2 separate regions of the Homo sapiens genome follow, and region 2 is linked to region 1. Evidence: promoter capture Hi-C in 16 types of primary human blood cells and fetal thymus (Javierre and others, 2016). All regions are on one chromosome and are shown on one strand. The core of a region is centred on a gene start or on the middle of the fragment in contact, and the rest is flanking DNA. Distances in the headings are between cores, read along the strand shown. Region 1 holds the start of MBD1 (methyl-CpG binding domain protein 1). Region 2 overlaps SMAD2 (SMAD family member 2).

Region 1 (5,657 bases), core at 1,664-4,163:
CCGCCCAGCCCAGCTCCAAGTATTGCTCAGATGACTGTGGCATGAAGCTGGCAGCCAAGTGAGTCATTCCTGAGAGGTTCAAGGGAGTCAGGAAGTGCATGGTAGGGCCTGACCACAGCCTTCTGTATGTCTACCAGTCAATCAGCTATCCACCAGTCACCAAACAGCCACTACCCACTCACCCATCCACCTACCCACCCACCTGCCCGTGTGTCCATCCAGCCACCATTCCGCCAGTCACCTATTTACTTCTCCTTTTGCCATTTGCGTCTATTTTGCCATTCTCACTTACTGATCACCTCACTCATTCTGTTGCTTGCTACCTTCCCTGCAGCCGCATCTACGAGATCCTCCCCCAGCGCATCCAGCAGTGGCAGCAGAGCCCTTGCATTGCTGAAGAGCACGGCAAGAAGCTGCTCGAACGCATTCGCCGAGAGCAGCAGAGTGCCCGCACTCGCCTTCAGGAAATGGAACGCCGATTCCATGAGCTTGAGGCCATCATTCTACGTGCCAAGCAGCAGGCTGTGCGCGAGGATGAGGAGGTGAGCAAGCAGGGGCGCAGCAGAGCAGGGCCTGTACTTTGTCCTTCCCAGCCTTATTGTTCCTTCCATTCCATGCAGAGCAACGAGGGTGACAGTGATGACACAGACCTGCAGATCTTCTGTGTTTCCTGTGGGCACCCCATCAACCCACGTGTTGCCTTGCGCCACATGGAGCGCTGCTACGCCAAGGTTGGGGTGTCAGACTGAGGGGGCGGACCATGTGGGAACATCAGTGGGCCAGTGGGGGACAGATTTGTTGTCTGGGTGGTGTCTTGGGAGGGCATGCAGCGCACATCCACAGTTCCCTCCATTTGTGCTCATCCCTCCAGTATGAGAGCCAGACGTCCTTTGGGTCCATGTACCCCACACGCATTGAAGGGTAAGTGAGGGTGCCACGCAGTGAGAGGTGGGGGGTTAAGGCGGGGGTCAGAAGTGGGATGTGTGTGGAGCTGGGGCAGGATACGGGCAACCAGCCAGGACAGATGGACCTCCCTTCCCTCCCTCTACTGCCCTCTCTACTCCAAATCCCCAGGGCCACACGACTCTTCTGTGATGTGTATAATCCTCAGAGCAAAACATACTGTAAGCGGCTCCAGGTGCTGTGCCCCGAGCACTCACGGGACCCCAAAGTAAGGTTTTCCCTCAGCTCCTCCCATTTTGCCCCTCCTCCCTGCCTCGCTGTCCCACATTCATCCCTTCCTTCCTCACCTCACTTTTCCTTCACTTTTTCCTCTCAGCTTCCCTGCTGCTTCACCCTCCATTCCTCCTTTTCCATGCCTCCTCACCGTTCCCTGAACCCTCCATTCTTTTCCTTCTCCCTCCTTGAGCCCCCATTCCTATTCTCCCTTATCACCGCTATTCATCCCCCCAACCTGGCCTCCTTGCAGGTGCCAGCTGACGAGGTATGCGGGTGCCCCCTTGTACGTGATGTCTTTGAGCTCACGGGTGACTTCTGCCGCCTGCCCAAGCGCCAGTGCAATCGCCATTACTGCTGGGAGAAGCTGCGGCGTGCGGAAGTGGACTTGGAGCGCGTGCGTGTGGTAGGTTTCTGTGCGGTTTTGGTGCTGCATGTGGTAGGTTTCCATGTCGGACGTGGCCGGGGCAGGCGGGGCTGCAGGTGTTCCTGCTTAGGACTCCTGCCGCTCCCTTGGCAGTGGTACAAGCTGGACGAGCTGTTTGAGCAGGAGCGCAATGTGCGCACAGCCATGACAAACCGCGCGGGATTGCTGGCCCTGATGCTGCACCAGACGATCCAGCACGATCCCCTCACTACCGACCTGCGCTCCAGTGCCGACCGCTGAGCCTCCTGGCCCGGACCCCTTACACCCTGCATTCCAGATGGGGGAGCCGCCCGGTGCCCGTGTGTCCGTTCCTCCACTCATCTGTTTCTCCGGTTCTCCCTGTGCCCATCCACCGGTTGACCGCCCATCTGCCTTTATCAGAGGGACTGTCCCCGTCGACATGTTCAGTGCCTGGTGGGGCTGCGGAGTCCACTCATCCTTGCCTCCTCTCCCTGGGTTTTGTTAATAAAATTTTGAAGAAACCAAGGAAGCTGTCTCCACATTGCTGCGGTTGCAACTGTTCCAGACTTCTGGATAAGATGGGGGGCGCCTGCACCCCGCGAGAGCCCAGGGACCCACATTCCCAGCCTCCCACGGGCAGAGGGTCTACGCAGCGCGCCTTCAGTGTGGTGACACCGCCCATGCATGCTCCTGTCTCCCACCCAGAGCTGTCGTCCGCTGTGGACGCCAGGCCCCGCCTTTTCCCCACAAGCCCCACGTTGGGGATCCGCCTCCTGCAGGGGCGCGCCCTCCCGCGTGCCTCAGTTTACCTGCGGTGTGGCACCGCCCCTTTCCCCGCCCCGCGCGCTCCCACAGCTGTTCGGCGGGGAGGAGGGAGCGGGACACGACCCCCCCTGGGGTTGATGTTCGGAGGGACCCACGAACACAGGATAGACCCCAGCGAGAGGTGGGAGAGGAGAGCGCCGGCAGGGCCAGGGAGTGCGCAGGCGCGAAGCAGCTTCCTTGCCGCGTTCGGTATCGGCTGTGGAGACCGCGGGAGGGAAGGGAGGGCGCAGGCGCAAGCCCTCCCCGACCGCTTCCCTTCAGGTTGAGGCTGGAAAGCGCATGCGCCAGCTAGATGGGCAGCGAGGAGAGCCGCAACTGCCAGTCCCTCGAAGGGGTTAGCTGTCGTTGAACGTCAGCACGCAGATGCAACTGGCTCTCGGCAGGGGGGCGCGCGCACCGCTGCGGAGCGCCGGCCCGTAGGCGCGGGAGCCTCCCTATTAAGGGCACGCGACATCGAGGCAATAGTGCGCAGGTGCTTAGCCAGAGGCGGAGCCCGAGAGGCAGGCAGCGGACTTCCGGTTCCGGGAGCAACGAACAGCCGCGGAGGCGACAGCTACCGCTTCAGAGGAGGCGGCCGCGGAGGAGGAGGAAGGGGAGGAGGGCGAGGCGGGAGGTGCAGGAGGGACCCTCGCCATGGGTCCACGGGCCTAGAGTGGCGGAAGATACCGGCCTGGTGCCAAACTGGTGAGACAGCCTTGGGGCTGGACGTGGAGAGCGCTCAGGCGGAGGATGGGAAGGAATTGTGGCTCAGAACGCTGACGGGGAGGAATGAAGGGCCCTCAGGCCGATAAGGGGGAGGAATGGCGGCGTCGGAATACTGACGAGGAGAAATGGGGGGATTTAGGCTGAGGACGGGAAGGAATGCAGCTCTGAACTCTGACAGGTAGGAGTGTCGGGATCCTGGGACGAGGACGGAGAGGAATGGTGGAGATCAGAACGCTAAAGGGAGACATCGGGGCATCTGAAGTTGAGAGAGAAATGGGGGTTCAGAACTCTGAGAGGGAGAAATGAGGGGCCCTCAGGCTGATGACAGGAGAAATAGAGGCTTTGGAATGCTGAAAGGGAGGAATAGGAGGCCCCATATAGAGGACGAGGAGCAGTAGGGGATCAGAATGGTGACAGTTAGGGATGGCATGATCCCGGGACAAGAACAGAGAGAATGGAGGAGGGTTCGGAATGCTGAGGGGAGAAATTAGGGTCTCTCTGGATGATAAGGGAGGAATGGAGGATGAGAACAGTAAGGAGGAGAAGTGGGGAACTTTTTGGCTGTAGAGGAAGGTTTGGGAGCTCAGACTAGGGAGAAATTGTGGGTGAGAACATTGAAGGAGAAGAAAAATAAGGGGGGAGGTCTTGGGCTGAGGAAGGGGAGGCATGGGAGGCTTCCAGTGTGAGGAATGGAAAAGATGAGGGGCTGTTCAGGCTATGGGTTGGAGCAGTTGTGTCTCGCAGAGGAAGTCGAGGTTGTAACACTGAGGTAGCAGGATAAGAGGACATCAGGCAGAGAAGGAATGGAGTGGTTAAAACACTGAAGGAGGGAAATTAGGAACTCCTGGGTCAAGGAAGGGGGGAATGAGAGACTACTGAAGTCAAGTAGTGAGGGCAAGAGAAATGGGGCCCTTTGGGGCTGAGGATGGGGACTATGGGGGTCTTGGGGTGATAAAATAGAGGGATAGAGGCCCTTAGGTCAGTGACAGGGAGGAATGAGGGGGAAGGATGAAAAGTTTCTGGATTGGCAGTGAGGAGAAATGATGGGTTGTCAGTCTGAGGATAGAGAGGAGTAGGGGATTAGGACACTGAGAATAAGAAACAGGGATCCTTGGGTTGAGGAATGATGATATCCTAGGCCCAGAATAGGAAAGAATGGGGTGAGAATATGAGGGGTTTCTTTTCCATATATGGGCTGGTTGCCTGTGGCAGGTCCTAGGGCTTGGGCAAGCACTAATGGATACCAGTGATTTGTGTGGCCTGGGGCACAGTGTTGTCCCTTCCTAGAGCCTCAGTTTCCCTCATCCCTTCCACCCCCTTTCAGGCTACTGCTGCTTCCTGTGGCCTCCATGGCTGAGGACTGGCTGGACTGCCCGGCCCTGGGCCCTGGCTGGAAGCGCCGCGAAGTCTTTCGCAAGTCAGGGGCCACCTGTGGACGCTCAGACACCTATTACCAGAGGTACTGGGTGGGTAGTGGGCAGAGTCAGGAGTGGGGTAGAGCCTGATTCTGGTAAAATCAAATGGTGTGGTTAAATTTATGGATGAAGTTTAAATTATGCACATACAGTTAATCCTTATTAGCGGATTTTATGTTTGAATTTCACCTACTTAATAAAATTTATTTGTAACTTAAAAGTCACTACTCACAGTGCATTTGTGATTATTCAAGAATACGTACAGAGCAGTGAAAAACTGTCACTCAATGCATGTATTTCTAGCTGAGGCTGAAGGAGCCCTTTTCAGCTTTAATACTGTAAACAGGTGTCCTTTTCGTGGTCTGTTTAGTGTCACATTTTTCTAATTTTTGTACTTTTTGGTGATTTTGCTTTTTAAAATGGTCCCCAAGCATAGTGCTGAGGTGCTGTTTAGTGTTCTGTGAGAAGACTATGTCGTGCTTTATGGAGAAAATACAAGGCAGATAAACTTTGCTGGTTATCTGAGTTACAATGCTGTTGGCTGTAAGTTCAATGTTATGCATCAGAATTATGGTACAACCAGAAAAAGAAGGAAATTTGCCAATATGTGCACAAAGCTGCTTCAGAAAGTACAGAAAGCATTTATAGTCTTGAAGCTATGTAAGAGATGAGAAAGCAGCTACATTGGTGGGTTCATGAAATGACGATCAATAAAGCATAGTTGACAGCATTGTTGAGGAAAGCCAAAGTCATGTTACCCTGGGTTAGGAAAATATTAAGGTTATATCAGCTAGTGCTGGCTGACTTGCACATTTCAAAAGGCGACATGGCATGAAACATGTTAAACCTGCATGCAATGCAGGTTCTGCTGATCAGGAGTCTTCCGAAGAATTTTAAAAATACCTGTTAAGTGTTGTACAGGAAAGGGGTTGTGTGGAAGAGTGGTTTTCAATGTCAATGAGATTGGCTTGTTAAACAAGAATATTGGCAAAAAACCTTACATAACACATACGGCCTCCAAGTCCCCTGGTTTGAGTCATTCAAAGACCATGCAAATAATCATTTGTAAAAAAAAATATGTATTAAGTAATGTGTGTTTAAACAGAAACACACACAAAACAAAAGTTCAGATGCTCTCAGGAACCTAA
Region 2 (5,657 bases), core at 1-2,500, 2.4 Mb after region 1:
TAAGCCACCTAGTCTGTAGTACTTTGTTATACCGTCCTGAACTGACTAAAGCACACCAATTTTTACTTTTTTAATGTGGCTGATAGAAAATTTAACAATATGTGGTTTGCATCCTGTTTCTGTTGGATAGCACTGGTCTAAAGAAATCCATACATATATAAACATGTACTAACATAAGAATTCCACTTAGGCAAAATTTTTTTCTTTTGCGTTGTAATCTTTGGAATCAGAAATCTGCTGAGATATTGGTAAAGAGTGGTACAAAGCTGTTCTTTATGGCCCCATCAGTCACCCCCATCCATTTATCATTTGGCTCTAATCAGTGAAGGTTATGCTTCCATTGACTTCTACAGTGTTCACTTTGGAGAGAAGGCTGCCGTTGTTTTGGCTTCGTCTTTTTTAGCTTGCTCCGATTTGCACTGGTTGCCTCTACACCTAGTACGCCGCAGTCATTCTGAGATTTCCCCCTCACTAGCATATTAGGGATTGCCTTCATTTTTTCTTCTTTGTTAGATCTCCTATTCTTTGTGTGTGTGTGTGTGTGTGTGTGTGTGTGTGTGTGTGTGTGTGTGTGTGTATTTTTTTTTTTGAGACAAGGTCACACTCTGTTGTCTAGTTGGAGTGTAGTAGGGTGATCATGGCTCACTGCAGCCTTGCACTCCTGGGTTCGAGTGTAGATCGTATTCCTTTTTGTTTTACTAGTATCTCCTTTTGATGAGACATATTCTTCAGGACCTTCCTGGAGAGTGTGTTGGGGGTGGGGCGGTAAATACTTGGAGATGTTGCATGTCTGAAAATGCCTTTGTTCTGGCTAACATAAGTCTAGGTTGGAAATTTTTTTTTGAAAAATTATGAAGCCCAGAATTACGAAGCCATTGCTCTCTTGACTTTGTTTACAGTATACTGTTGACAAAACCAAAGCCATTTTGATTGTTTTCTATATAACCTATTTTTTTTCCTCCTTGGAAACTTTAAGCCCTTTCTTTGTCTTTGGCATTCTGGTTTTGCTACCATGGGCCTTCATGTAGGTTTGTTTTCATCTGTTTTACTGGGGTCTTGATGGGCCCTTTCCATCTAGAAACTCCCATCTTTCAGTTCAGGGGCTTTTTCTTAATTTATCTATTTGACTCCCCTACTCTGCATCTCTGTTTGGAACTGTTGTTGGGACATTGGACCTCTGGAACCAGTCTTCCAATTTTTTTCATTTTCTCTACTGTTTCCCATCTTTCTTTTCTACTTTCTGGAAGATTTCTTCTACTTTATCTTCTAGCACTTCTATTGATTTTTTTCCCCCGTTTCTGCTGTCAAGCTATGCAAGAGCTGTTAAGTTCTCTGAATGCTGCCTTTGAGAGCATGCTGCTCTTTCTTCAGGGTTGCTCAGTCTTATTTCTCTGGCCATGTTGATGTTTTAAAAATGTTTTCTTTCTCTGTATAGTCTTTTCCTGAAGCTGAATTTTTCTGGTTTTGTTTGACGTTTTTCCTCAGATAAAGTAATTCTTAAGAAGTGGGGATCTAAAAAGCTGATCAAAAACTCAACATGTGGGTGAAACTTGTCTCCTTTCAGTTTCACTGGAGAGGGATCTGAGCAGGCAGGCTGTTTGTTGGTAAACTCCCAATATTAGCATCTATATGCCTTTCCTCCTGGGTCGGTCAGGTACCCTAGTGAAGTCTTTTGATCTGAATAACTGGGCGGAGGTCTGGCTGCTAGTATTTGGGAGCCAAAACCCAGTGGAGGAAGGGGTTTGGGAGTCGACATTTAACACAGCGTGCTCATGTTCATTCACACCCTCTTTTCTTCCTACTTATACCCAGGCCATCTCCTAGTCCAGGGATTTTGTTTTCCCCTTTGCAGAAAGTAAACGTTGAGGCAGAGGATTAGTTATCCAGAGACAGTAGGGGCGGAAATCTAAGAACTGAATTCCTTTCTACAAAGCTCTTAACAAGTGCTACCTATTATTCCTTCCCCTGCCTGGCCCTCAGTTCCTGCCGTGACTTGCTGTTGGTTCCTTAACTTTTTGAGGTTTCTGTGTTAATCAATGGTTTTCAGCTTTTCCTACAGCTAGCCTAGAGTTAGTAGTTTCTGATCTGTTCAATTACTGCTCACCCATTTTCCAGCCATTAAAATTTTGCTTCTGTTTTCTCCTTACCTCTTCTCCCTATCCTCATGAGGTTTCTGGTTTTTAAAAATTCCCTTGGTTAGGCGTGGTGGCTCATGCCTGTAATCCTAGCACTTTGGGAGGCTGAGGCAGGAGGATTGGTTGAGTCCAGGAGTTCAAGCCTAGACAACATAGGGAGAACCCATATCTTAAAAAAAAAATTCTTTATGGTTTTCAATAGGCTGTTTTCATCTACAATGCAATGATGAGTTAAAGTTTTCCATTAAAAATTTTTTTACCAATAACTCTCCAAAAGAATTGAAATAGAATAACGTATAACTCCAAGTCAGTGGGGATGAGGGGTGGAAATAAAGAGAAATTGATCACTCCAGTATAAGGCAGGGAAGAAGAAAAAAGAAAAGAAAAATGCATAGGTATTAGAAAACACAAAATAAGATGGTAGAAAATAAGCTGAAATATCTCCATAAACCCAATATGTAATCTCAGATTAAACTTGCTGGCTAAAGGAGAACAAAAATTTAAAAAATCCAACCAACTGTATTTTACAAGTGGAGATACTCCTAAAAGTATGATGACATAGTTTAAAAGCAAAGGAATGGAAAAGATATACTAGGTGTAATTTATAAGGTAAAATTGGAAGAATTACAGGTATAAATCAAATCTATAATCGTAGTAGAAAATTTTAATATACCTCTCAGTAATTTATGAAAGGGTAGATTTAAAAAACTACAAGGTTATGAAGGATTGGAAGAGTACAATTAGCAAGCACCCAACAATTACAGAAGATACATTCTGTAAGGGGAATCGCTTGAACCCAGGAGGCAGAGGTTGCAGTGAGCCGAGATCATACCACTGCACTCCAGGCTGGGCGACAGAGCGAGACTCCGTCTCAACAACGACAACAAAAATAGTGTCAGCGAGACTCTGTCTCAACAACGACAACAACAAAAATAGTGTCTTTGATTTAGTGCATGTAACTAAGTTGAAAAGAGTGCCAAGACTGATAGAGGAGAAAAAGAATGTACAAATGTATTGGAAATGAAGGGATGGTATAACTGCAGACAAACTGAGATTTTAAAACTGCAAGAATACTGTGAACAGTTTTATTTCTTTAAATTTGGAAACAGGTAAAGTGGACAATTTCTAGCAAAACAAATTACCAAGTTGGCTTAATAAGAATTAGAAACTTCACTAGATTATGATTTAAAAACTTAGTCATGTTTAGAAATATACCTATACCAGGCGGGGCATGGTGGCTACCACTTTGGGAGGCCAAGGTGGGCGATCACTTGAAGTCAGCAGTTTGAGACCAGCCTGGCCAACATGGTGAAGCCCTATCTCTATCAAAAATACAAAAATTAGCCAAGCATGGTTGCAGTCGCCTGTAATCCCAGCTAATCAGGTGGCTGAGGCAGAGCCCAGGAGACAGAGGTTGCAGTGAGACAAGATCGTGCCACTGCACTCCAGCCTGGGCGACAGAGTGAGACTCTGTCTCAAAACAAAACAAAACAAAACAAAATAAATAAATAAATATACCTGTACCAATGTAAAATTTTAAGTCCTCAAGCAAAACACCAGACTACAAATGAAGACCCCGTATGGGCAAGTGCAACCAAACGTGAGGGATTAACTCTAATCTTATACAAAATGTTACAGAAAAATTATTTTGCAAGGCTACTATAATCTTGATACCCCAACCAGATAGTGTGAGAAGGGGATATAGGCTGCATTCTCACCAAAGAACATGGCAATAAAAATTGTAGTTTGTAAAATGTTAGTATTTACTCAAAACAAAAATACCATGACTAATTAGGGTTTGTCTCAGGAATGTAGGGATGATTAAGCATTAGAAAACTCGTAAATGAAATTCATCATGTTAACACATTAAAGGAGAAAGGCCATATGATAATTTTGATGGACAACGGGAAAGCATATGATAACATTTAGTACTTGTTCATGACAAAAATTCTTAGGAAATGAATACAAGAGAACTTTCAAAAGGGTGTTAAAAAACACAGAAGAGTACATACGGTATAATTCCATCTATATGAATTTCTGGAACAGGTAAAATTAATAGTAATAGAAGTCAGTAGTTGCCTGACGGGGGAAGGTGGATTGACTGAAAAGGAACGTAAGGGAGACATCTGAGGTGCTGGAAATGTTGTTTTTTTGGGGATTGTGGTTACATTAGTGTAAACATTTGTTAGAATTATTGATTTCATGCCCACTCACGGTTCGCGACCCTCAGTTTAGAGAAATTGTAGAGTGCAGCATATGGTGAAATGTCTTTTTTAGCAAAGTGTGTGTGTATATACTAGGTTGCATGTAAAATGTACTTTTCACTGTGGGACTTTTTTTGGTTAAAAAGTTTGAAAGTTTGAAATTTTCTGCCCTAGAAGAGCTTTTACATGGTATAAAATGATATATACCAGCCTATTCATAGCAGGTTGTGAGAGAGGAAAATTGGAAACCTAACTAGTCATCCAGAGTGAATGGACAGTGAACTGTGCTAGTCATAAAATGGAATGCCATGTGACAGCTAAAATGAATGAACTAGGATTTAGGATTATGTATGTATCAGCATGGACTGAACAGTATCACACTTTCATATAAATTTATAAAATGTACAGAACTGTATTGTATGGATACAATATGTAGCAAAACTGTTAAATGACCATGGGGGAACATCAGGATAGTGATAATCTCTGAGAAGCAAGAGGGAGGGAAATGTTATCAAAGAGGAATACATAGGGGGCTTTAGCTGTATTCGTATCTTATTTCTTATGTCTGATCAAGTACTGCAAAATGCTAAGATATGACAGCTAGATGGAAAGTACATGAGTGTTGAGTGTAATATTTTTGTGTAATTAAAGTCCCCATTTACAATAAAAACCAAGATACCTGGAGAAATAAGTAAATTTGACAAGATGTAAGATTTTTTATGGAGAAAATATGCAACTTATCAATAGATAATAAATAAATGGAAATACTCATTTGCATAGTCGGAGTACTTGATATCATAAATATGTTCTCCATAAACTAATATAAATTCATTGCACTTCCAATCAAAATCCTATAGGATTTTTGTAGAACATGCTAAACTTAAAGTAACCAGCAATACTACACATCTGAAAAATAAGGAAGGGGGGTCACCCTGACAAATATCAAGACTAACTAGAAAGCAGTAGTAATTAATATTTTCTTACATTGATGTTAAGTGTGAACAAATAACAGAATGCGTGTGATCAGACCTTTAGTAGGAATTTGTTATGCGACAGAAGTGGCATTATGACTTAGCAAAAGGTAAGCTTTAATACACAGGCTGTCCTTATGAGAGATGGTTAGATCACTGTCTCACCTCTTAAAACCAAATTTCTGATCTTTCTTTTAGAAACTTAATATGAAAAGTAAACTAAAGCATCCATAAGAATATCTAGAGGGGATTCTCTGTATTACGTCAGGGTATTTATTTGTGCCTCACATTCTTCATTTGTAAATAATAGTACCTAACCCCAGTTGGTTCTTAGGATTCGGAATTCT

What was found. The method cuts DNA at HindIII sites, captures the fragments that hold promoters and counts their contacts. A CHiCAGO score of 5 or more calls a contact.
Region 2: a contact is called between a fragment that was not itself captured here and the fragment with the promoter of MBD1 in region 1, in 1 of 17 cell types (neutrophils). The highest score is 6.6, in neutrophils.

What each region holds. Positions count from the first base shown.
Region 1 is chr18:50,278,779-50,284,435 of GRCh38, reverse strand. It overlaps MBD1 (methyl-CpG binding domain protein 1), which reads left to right and starts at 2,913. Exons shown (of 17, transcript NM_015846.4): 1 at 2,913-3,073; 2 at 4,419-4,553. The coding sequence starts at 4,444. It overlaps CXXC1 (CXXC finger protein 1), which reads left to right. Exons shown (of 15, transcript NM_014593.4): 9 at 1-58; 10 at 335-542; 11 at 621-731; 12 at 872-921; 13 at 1,075-1,171; 14 at 1,430-1,582; 15 at 1,697-2,089. The coding sequence ends at 1,843. RefSeq lists enhancers at 1,674-2,254, 2,255-2,835 and silencers at 2,981-3,090, 3,101-3,180. The HindIII fragment of the contact is 20,722 bases long and covers 1-5,657 here.
Region 2 is chr18:47,914,390-47,920,046 of GRCh38, reverse strand. The region is part of intron 1 of SMAD2 (SMAD family member 2); the gene reads left to right. Among named protein-coding and RNA genes, the nearest start is that of SMAD2, 13 kb to the left of the region's middle. RefSeq lists an enhancer at 1,071-1,683. The HindIII fragment of the contact is 8,355 bases long and covers 1-5,427 here.